Linked DNA regions of Homo sapiens: region 2 is linked to region 1. Evidence: promoter capture Hi-C in 16 types of primary human blood cells and fetal thymus (Javierre and others, 2016). All regions are on one chromosome and are shown on one strand. Each heading gives the region's core, a stretch centred on a gene start or on the middle of the fragment in contact. The rest is flanking DNA. Distances are from core to core; before and after follow the strand shown.

Region 1 (4,363 bases), core at 1,178-3,677:
TAGTAGTTAAGTTTTGGGGAAGTCAAAAGTTATATGCAGATTTTCTTTCTTGATTTTTTTTTTTTTTTTTGAGGCAGTCTTGCTCTGTCGCCCAGGATGGAGTGCAGTGGTGCGATCTCGGCTCACTGCAATCTCCACGTCCTGGGTTCAAGTGATGCTCTTGCCTCAACCTCCTAAGTAGCTGGGATTACAGGCACCTGCCACCACGCCTGCCTAATTTTTGTATTTTTAGTAGAGACCAGGTTTTGTCATGTTGGCCAGGCTGGTCTCGAACTCCTGACCTCAGTTGATCCGCCGGCCTTGGCCTTCCACATAGTGCTGGGATTACAGGCGTGAGGCACCGCGCCCAGCCTATATGGAGGTTTTCGGCTGAGCTGGGGGTCAGTGCCCCTCGCCCCCAGACTGTACAGAGTCAGCTGTGTTAAGATATTAAGCACCTTCAGTACACAAGACTCTGTGCTGGTTTTCTTTTCTTTTTTTTTTTTTTTTACTCTAAATCATCAAACCCTATGAGGAAAGTCCTGTTACTTTCTCCCATTTAGCACTCTTGAAGAGGCTAATTTGCCTAAGATCAAGAGCTCGTCAGTGACTGCTGAGGTTCAAACGCAGATCTTTTTTAAGACTTGAGAACCTACAGGTTCAACCACCATTATAAAACCATCTCTGTAATCACGAGGCACCCGGAATTTGTGGAGCTTGGACTTCATCCTGAAGGGAGTGAAAACTTATGGAAGTTTTTTCCTTCCACGTTTCCCCCTTCCAGATGAATAATATACGCGTGTTCAAGATACAAAAATGCATAAAATTTGGCCAGGCATGGTGGCTTACACCTGTAATCCCAGCACTTGGGGAGGCTGAGGCGAGTGGATCACTTGAGCCCAGGAGTTCAAGACCAGCCTGGGCAATATGGCAAAACCCCGTCTCAAAACAACAAAACAAACAAACAAAAAACCCATAAAACTGAACAAGGTAGTTTGTAAGATATGGAAGTACAATGCAGATGACAATAATGACGATGGTAGCTACCACTAGGCGCTTTATTTATGCCACTCTCCTCAACACTGGATAGACTCTCACTTAATCCTCACAAGCTTATGAGGTAGGCGCTACCATCATTCGCCGTTTTACAGAGGAGGACGCTGAGGCACAGAGTGATTGAGAAACTTGTCGAAGGCACTGCAGCTGGCAAGTGGTGACGTGGCATTTGAATCCAGGCATCCGGATGGTGTGGATGCCGTGGAAGAGAAAGGGGCGGGTGGGACTGCTTCCTGAGGAGATAGTGACTGCCGAGGCAGCAGCGTAGGGAAGACAACTGAAGAACACGAGCTGTGGAGACAGACCATCGCATTCGGAGTGGAGAGATGGGTGTACAGACAGACAATAACCAGACTATATATAAAAAGAGAACTCTAGGTCAGGCGCGGTGGCTCACACCTGTAATCTTAGCACTTTGGGAGGCTGAGGCGGGTGGATCACTTGAGGTCAGGCGTTGGAGACCAGGAGTTCAAAACCCCGTCTCTACTAAAAATTTAAAAATTAGCCGGGCATGGTGGTGGGCGCCTGTAGTCCCAGCTTCTCGGGAGGCTGAGGCACGAGAATCGATTGAACCCGGGAAGCGGAGGTTGCAGTGAGCCGAGATCGCACCACTGCACTCCAGCCTGGGTGACGAGAGCGAAAAACTCCGTCTCAAAAATAAAATAAATTACTGATAATAGTACTAATACCCCTTAAGTGGCTATTGATAATAATAGTACCATGGGTGGGGGGGCAACTTCTCTGAGAGTGCTCTGTAAGTATGTATTGAAGATTGAGTAAATACATTTAAAATTCTTAGAACAGTATGTGGCACATAGCGTTCCAGAATGCCACATTATTGTTAGTGACAGAAATAATCTCGGCTGGGCGCGGTGGCTCACGCCTGTAATCCCAGCACTTTGGGGGGGCCACGGCGGGAGGCTCTCTCGAGGCCGGGAGTTCAAGACCAGCCTGGGCAACATGGCAAGACGCCGACTGTTAAAAAAAAAAAATGCTACCCGGGCGTCGTGGCGTGTGCCTGTAATCCCAGCTACTGGGGAGGAGGTGGGAGGATCGCTCGAGCCCGAGAGGTTGGTCGGGGCCTCAGTGAGCCGAAATCACGCCACTGCACTCCAGCCTGGGCGACGGAGCGAGACCCTGTCTCAGAAAGAAAAAGAAAAACCACCGTCCAGGGGCGGAGAAGGAAGGTTCTCCCTACTTCTCAGGTTTCCACTCCCTGGCCGGAAAAAACCTAGTCCTCCCAGGTTAGCACGCCGCTCTAGCCCAGCCTCACGTCTCCACTGCTTCTCAGCCAGCCAACGCCTCTTCTGATTGGCTCTGACGTGCGTGGTGCGTGAAAACGTCACGAGACGCCGGCGTTACTATAAGAGCGCAGCCGTGGCGCTTCCGCGCCTCTTTCTCAGTGACCGGGTGGTTTGCTTAGGTGAGGTGCGGTGGTGTGCTTTTTCTCTAGGGTTTGGGTTGGATGGTGGCCCGGGCCTTCCGAGTTTCCATGAGTAAGCTAAAGACGTTAGGAAACAGAGCAGGGTGGTTGAACGGGAGTGCAGCACGGTTGTGGGGGCAGATACTGACTATGAGAGCGTTGGAGGTTATTCTCGCGAGATCGGATCTGGGCTCCGCGAGGTTTTGGCGTAGTTGTGGGACTGCGCAGGCGCCGTTTGGATCCCTTACGCTCACACTTCTCTCCCGCGCAGGCGCAGACGGGGAAGCGGAGCCAACATGCCAGTGGCCCGGAGCTGGGTTTGTCGCAAAACTTATGTGACCCCGCGGAGACCCTTCGAGAAATCTCGTCTCGACCAAGAGCTGAAGCTGATCGGTGAGTGGCCAAGGCTTCCGGGAAGTGGTTCGGCTTCCGGGAGGCGGTTAGCACGTGGATGAAGGTGCCCATGTACTCTATCTAGTCCGTCCCCTAAATTTGGTACTATTCGTGGTTTAGGAAGGTTTTGTGATTCCAAAGCTGCCAGTCTAGTTGTTGTGCCAGTACGTGGGACTACACTTGTCCACCCCCTTCTCCCCACCAGGCGAGTATGGGCTCCGGAACAAACGTGAGGTCTGGAGGGTCAAATTTACCCTGGCCAAGATCCGCAAGGCCGCCCGGGAACTGCTGACGCTTGATGAGAAGGACCCACGGCGTCTGTTCGAAGGTGCGTATGGGAGTCCACAGCAGAGGGATGGGGTGCAGGGCTTGTGAGGTTCATTCTCCCTTCTGTTGCCTCTGTTCCAGTGATGAGAGTTGTGTCATTGGATAAATGGAACCAGCCTTCTAACTTTTAGTGGCACTTGTGGAGTAGGAAAAGTGTATCTGGATCAGTCTTTGCCCTGTTTCTTAGGTGTGTGGCTTTTTTGCCCAGTTATTGGACCTTCAGTTTAGTAATGACCAGAGCTAAAGATAGGCCTGGCACACCTGGGCACCCGTCTATATCTTTATATTCTGTTTATGTGGCCTGTTTGCTAGTGGATGAGAGTAGACTATGAAGTGGAATTTCTGGGCTAAGTGATGGTGATAACAGGGTTTGCACATTTGCTTGGTTTATTGTTTTTTTAATTAAGTTTTCTCGTTTTATTTAGTCTTTTGAGACGGAGTCTTGCTCTGTTGCCCAGGCTGGAGTGCCGTGGCGCCATTTCGGCTTACTGCAACCCCCGCCTCCTGGGTTCAAACAATTCTCCTATCTTAGCCTCCCAAGTAGCTGGGACTACAGACAGGCGCACGCCACCACACCTGGCTAATTTTACTTTTGAGACGGAGTCTCGCTCCATTGCCCATGCTGGAGTGTAGTTGTCGCAATCTTGGCTCACTGCAAACTCCGCCTCCAGAGTTCAAGCGATTCTCCTGTCTTAGCCTCCTAAGTAGCTGGAATCACAGGCATGGGCCACCAAGCCTGGCTAATTTTCTATTATTAGTGGAGATGGGTTTTCACCATGTTGTCCAGGCTGGTGCTTGTTTTTTTAAGCTGGTCAAGGACATTTAGGTGGTATTTAGCAAAGGCCTGAACAGGAGAGAACCTGTAAAATGTCTCAGGGAACAGCATTTCAGGTGATGACTTTAGGAGGGCATGCAGATCACATAGACTTAGGCTTACTTTACTAATTGTGGTGAAATACACATTAAATTGAAAATGTACCATCTTAACCATCTTGTTTTAAAATCTACTCTGAGATGCGGTGTTATTGGAGTGCTTTCTACAGCAGATTGGCATGACCAAGATTGGCATTTGTATATCCTGAGACGCTGCTTTTGCCTGAGTTTGGGTAGTCATGATTTATGGTGAAAAGCAGTCTCTACACCTGAGCCCTGACTGTTAGGCATGAGAGTGGTCATCCATGTTAG
Region 2 (4,581 bases), core at 749-3,248, 120 kb after region 1:
TAAAATCTAAAAAGAAAACCCACAAAAAACCCTAAATGTAATGACGTTAATGCAGTTCCTGACAGTGACTTTTAGCCCTTCTGCAAACTTTTGTTTCGTTGCCTTCCTGACCGTATGACGCAATGAAATTTCGATTTGCTTTAATTTCTGCTTCCTCTTTCCCTATGTTTCAGTTCTGAAGGTATGAGCTTCTCTCATCTTTTTCTTTTCTTTTACTTTGAGATGGAGTCTCGCTCTGTCACCCAGGCTGGAGTGCAACAGCCTGACCTCAGCTCACTGCAACCTCTGCTACCCATGTTCAAGTGATTCTCCTGTCTCAGTCTCCCAAGTAGCTGGATGACAGGCATGAGCCACCACGCCCAGTTAATTTTTGTATTTTTAGTAGAGACAGGATTTCACCCTGTTGGTCAGGCTGGTCTCGAATTCCTCACCTCAGGTGATCCACCTGCTTTGGCCTCCCAAAGTGCTGGGATTACAGGTGTGAGCCACCGTGCCCGGCCAGGATATTTTTTTCTTTAGAGCACTTACTTCACTTTCTTTGAGTGAAGTTGGATGGGTTACAGCCGTTGTGGTGTTACAAAGAATAATTCTGAGAGAAATATTGTTATTTGTTGGTAAAATAAAAGTGTCTTAAGTTAAAAGTTTCCTTTGAGACCCAATAAAGAAATTAGTATTACTACATAATGCATTTATTTACAAGTCTTTTTTTGCATGTCCATTGTAAATTTAATATTTTAATTTACAATGAGTTTACAAATAATTTTTACAAATAAATGTTACAAATAAAAATAATTTACAATGAGTAAATGAGTTGGAATTTATTTACATGCTTATGGCTGCCTTTGATTAAACTTCTTCCAAAAATAAACTCTGTCCAGATGTTGGGTTTTATTATACTTAATTTCATTTTAATGTTATTTCATGTGAGATTACTTGAATACAAGCTGTTGCATAATTGCTCCCAAGTGGAGTCTTTGCTGTGCACTTGCATACCCCAGAGTGGGAGGTTTGGGGATTCTGAATGGCCAGGGCAGCGTGTGGGTGTACCTTCACAGGCCTGATGTGTGAGCCTTCAAACACCGGGGTGGAGGAAGTGATTAAATAGAGGATGCAATGGTCTGGAGGCAATTTATAGCCCAGAGACCATACCTGGGGCATTTCTCTTCCTTATCTAGCACACAAAGTAGAACCGTGACACTCGGGCGTCACTGACAATGAACACAAAGGGGCTGAATGTCGGGAATCCTGCAGACGCCAGGAAAGAGGTACTTCTCAGCCATTGGCTTGGATTCTGAATCTGGGTTACGCACAATGACAAAATATCAGCTAGAGCATGAGAGGAGACAAACATGCTCACCAGGATGAGGATGGTGTGTGTGGTTGTGGTTTCATGAGATGTTCTGCGGGAGAGGTTGCGGCTGCGAACATGTTGGACTCTCTGCTTGTATCTATGCAGGACGAGGACCATGGAGCTGCTGGTGCAGATCATGAGGGAGACACATATACGGGAGACACATATACCATCTGTGCAGCAGTAAATGACTGCAACTATTACATACAGCGATCTTCCTGGATAGGGTGAGGAGCAGTATCTATACATTTTTTCCATACTCATGTTTTTGCTCTTTATTGGGTCAGTTATTTACTTTGCAGTATAAATATTTACAACAAGATTCAAGATCCAACAGAGGAAACAGCAGAAAACTATAAACTTTGGGGATCTAATTCAGAGTTCCATCTTCCCAGAGATACTGGGGTGAAGCTTCATGGCCTGGAAGCCACTGAAGAGGCAGGTGGTGCTGAGGGAAACCCCTCTGGCCACTCTGTGTAGGTAGAAGACAAGTTTACATCCAGCCTCATCCAGGAAAGGTTTCAATCCAAAAGCCGCCACTGTCTGAGGGATCCCTTTAGAGAAAAGAACCGGGTTGTTGGCTAAGACCAGCTGGCTGAGAATCAGGTCTCTGGGTCTCACTATTTGTGTGGGGACAAAAGTAAAGCTATAAAAGTAAAGGAGTAGAGAATTTCCAAGGATTCCAGCAGCGGTCTGAATGAGAAAGGTAATACTCCAATTTAAGTTAACAGAAACCATCTCCATTTAGAGGAGATGTTGGAGTTTGATTCTATTTTCATCAGAGGAATCTGTAGACTGAAAAATACAATTGAGTGTTTTCACTGTACCCGGTTTCATGCGCTTCCGTGTGAAGAGACCACTAAACAGGCTTTGTGTGAGCAGTAAAGCTTTTAATCACCTGGGTGCAGGTGGGCTGAGTCCAAAAAGAGAGTCATCGAAGGGAGATAGGGGTGGGGCCATTTTATAGGATTTGGGTAGGTAAAGGAAAAAGAGGGGTTGTTCTCTGGTGGGCAGGTGTGGGGGTCACAAGGTGCTCCGTAGAGGAGCTTTTGAGCCAGGATGAGCCAGGAGAAGGAATTTCACAAGATAATGTCATCAGTTAAGGCAGGAACAAGCCATTTTCACTTCTTTTGTGGTGGAATGTCATCAGTTAAGGCAGGAACCAGCCATCTGGATGTGTATGTGCAGGTCACAGGGGATATGATGGCTTAGCTTGGGCTCAGAGGCCTGACACCCAGAAAATGCCTTTTTCTCACGAAACTCATTATTCCAGGTGAATACAAACATTAAGAACAAACTTGTACAATTACAAAGCTATTTATTCCAAAATTATGATTTGTAAAACTACAATGACTTGAACCCACTTAATTTCAATCAAAGAAAGACTCAATAAATTCCTGGGCCTCCCCACAGTGGAGTCCTGGGCAGCTGTGGGTGAGATGAATGAGTTATCTTGAAGGCTGACCTTCCAAGACGTGTAGTTGTGTAGTTGGGGTGGCAGGGAGAAAAGAAAAAGAAAGATTCAGGACGTTATCAACAGTTAACTTTATTTTACTCAGAACCAGAGAAAAATGGTATAGTGTTATGTCATTGTGTGTGTATTTTGTAATCTATTTTTTAAAATGAAAGATTAATCAATACCTTTAAAAGTGGGTAGTTGAGAGAGAGAGAGAAAACAGTGCAGAGGAGACAGAATAAAGCTAGACTGACATCATTGTGTCTTGTTTCTTGTTTTGGTATAGAAATATAAACATACCTTTGGGAGGCTGAGGTGGGCGAATCGCAAGATCAGGAGTTCAAGACCAGCCTGGCCAACATGGTGAAACCCCACCTCTACTGAAAATAAAAAGATTAGCTGGGCATGGTGGCACACTCCTGTCATCCCAGCTACTCGGGAGGCTCTGACAGGAGAATTGCTTGAACCTGGGAGGTGGAGATTGCAGTGAGCTGAGACTGTGCCACTGCATTTGTAGGGACCAGCCCCACAGGGTCGGTGGGTCTCTCCCTGTGTGTGGTGACGATAGAGTGTAGAAATAAAGACACAAGACAAAGAGATAAAAGAAAAGGCAGCTGCGCCCGGGGGACCACTACCACCAATGCGCGGAGACCGGTAGTGGCCCCGAATGTTGGGCTGCGCTGTTATTTATTGGATACAAGGCAGAAGGGGCAGGGTAAAGAGTGTGAGTCACCTCCAATGATAGGTAAGGTCACGTGGGTCACGTGTCCACTGGACAGGGGGCCCTTCCCTGCCTGGCAGCCGAGGCAGAGAGGGAGAGGAGACAGAGAGAAAGACAGCTTACGCCATTATTTCTGCATATCAGGGACTATTAGTACTTTCACTAATTTACTACTGCTATCTAGAAGGCAGAGCCAGGTGTACAGGATGGAACATGAAGGCGGACTAGGAGCGTGACCACCGAAGCACAGCATCACAGGGAGACGGTTAGGCCTCCGGATAACTGCGGGCGAGCCTGACTGATGTCAGGCCCTCCACAAGAGGTGGAGGAGCAGAGTCTTCTCTAAACTCCCCCGGGGAAAGGGAGACTCCCTTCCCCAGTCTGCTAAGTAGCGGGTGTTGTTCCTTGCCACTTACGCTACCGCTAGACCACGGTCCGCTTGGCAACGGACGTCTTCCCAGACGCTGGCGTCACCGCTAGACCAAGGAGCCCTCTGGTGGCCCTGTCCGGGCATGACAGAGGGCTCGCACTCTTGTCTTCTGGTCACTTCTCACTGTGTCCCCTCAGCTCCTATCTCTGTATGGCCTGGCTTTTCCTAGGTTATGATTACAGAGGGAGGATTATTATAATATTGGGATAAAGGGTAACTGCTACAAACAAATGATTAATGATATTCATATATAATCATAACTAAGATCTATATCTGGTATAACTATTCTTGTTTTATATTTTATTATACTGGAACAGCTCGTGTCCTCTGTCTCTTGCCTCGGCACCTGGGTGGCTTGCCACCCACAGCATTCTAGCCTGGGCGACGAGCAAGACTCCGTTTAAAAATATATATATATACATATATAAACATATTCCTGAATGTCTATACTATAAAATATTTTTAAATATAACTTATAAATCTAAAGATAATACCTTAAAAAAGGAAATAGAATTGAGTTCCTATCAAATTAGGGCATTACTAAACAAGGAAGAATTATTTGTACTAGAATGTAAGCAAAATTACTTGACCATATATTTTATAATGCATATATTATTTATCAT

What was found. Contacts are between HindIII fragments. The CHiCAGO score rates a contact against its expected background, and 5 or more counts as called.
Region 2: a fragment that was not itself captured here is called in contact with the fragment with the promoter of RPS9 in region 1 in 2 of 17 cell types (neutrophils and M1 macrophages); the score reaches 5.5 in neutrophils.

What each region holds. Positions count from the first base shown.
Region 1 is chr19:54,198,431-54,202,793 of GRCh38, forward strand. RPS9 (ribosomal protein S9) reads left to right here and starts at 2,428. Exons shown (of 5, transcript NM_001013.4): 1 at 2,428-2,458; 2 at 2,730-2,851; 3 at 3,057-3,179. The coding sequence starts at 2,755. RefSeq lists an enhancer at 1,816-2,485 and a silencer at 2,248-2,741. The HindIII fragment of the contact is 3,345 bases long and covers 1,090-4,363 here.
Region 2 is chr19:54,319,063-54,323,643 of GRCh38, forward strand. It overlaps the pseudogene VN1R104P. Among named protein-coding and RNA genes, the nearest start is that of LILRA5, 8.2 kb to the left of the region's middle. The HindIII fragment of the contact is 476 bases long and covers 1,761-2,236 here.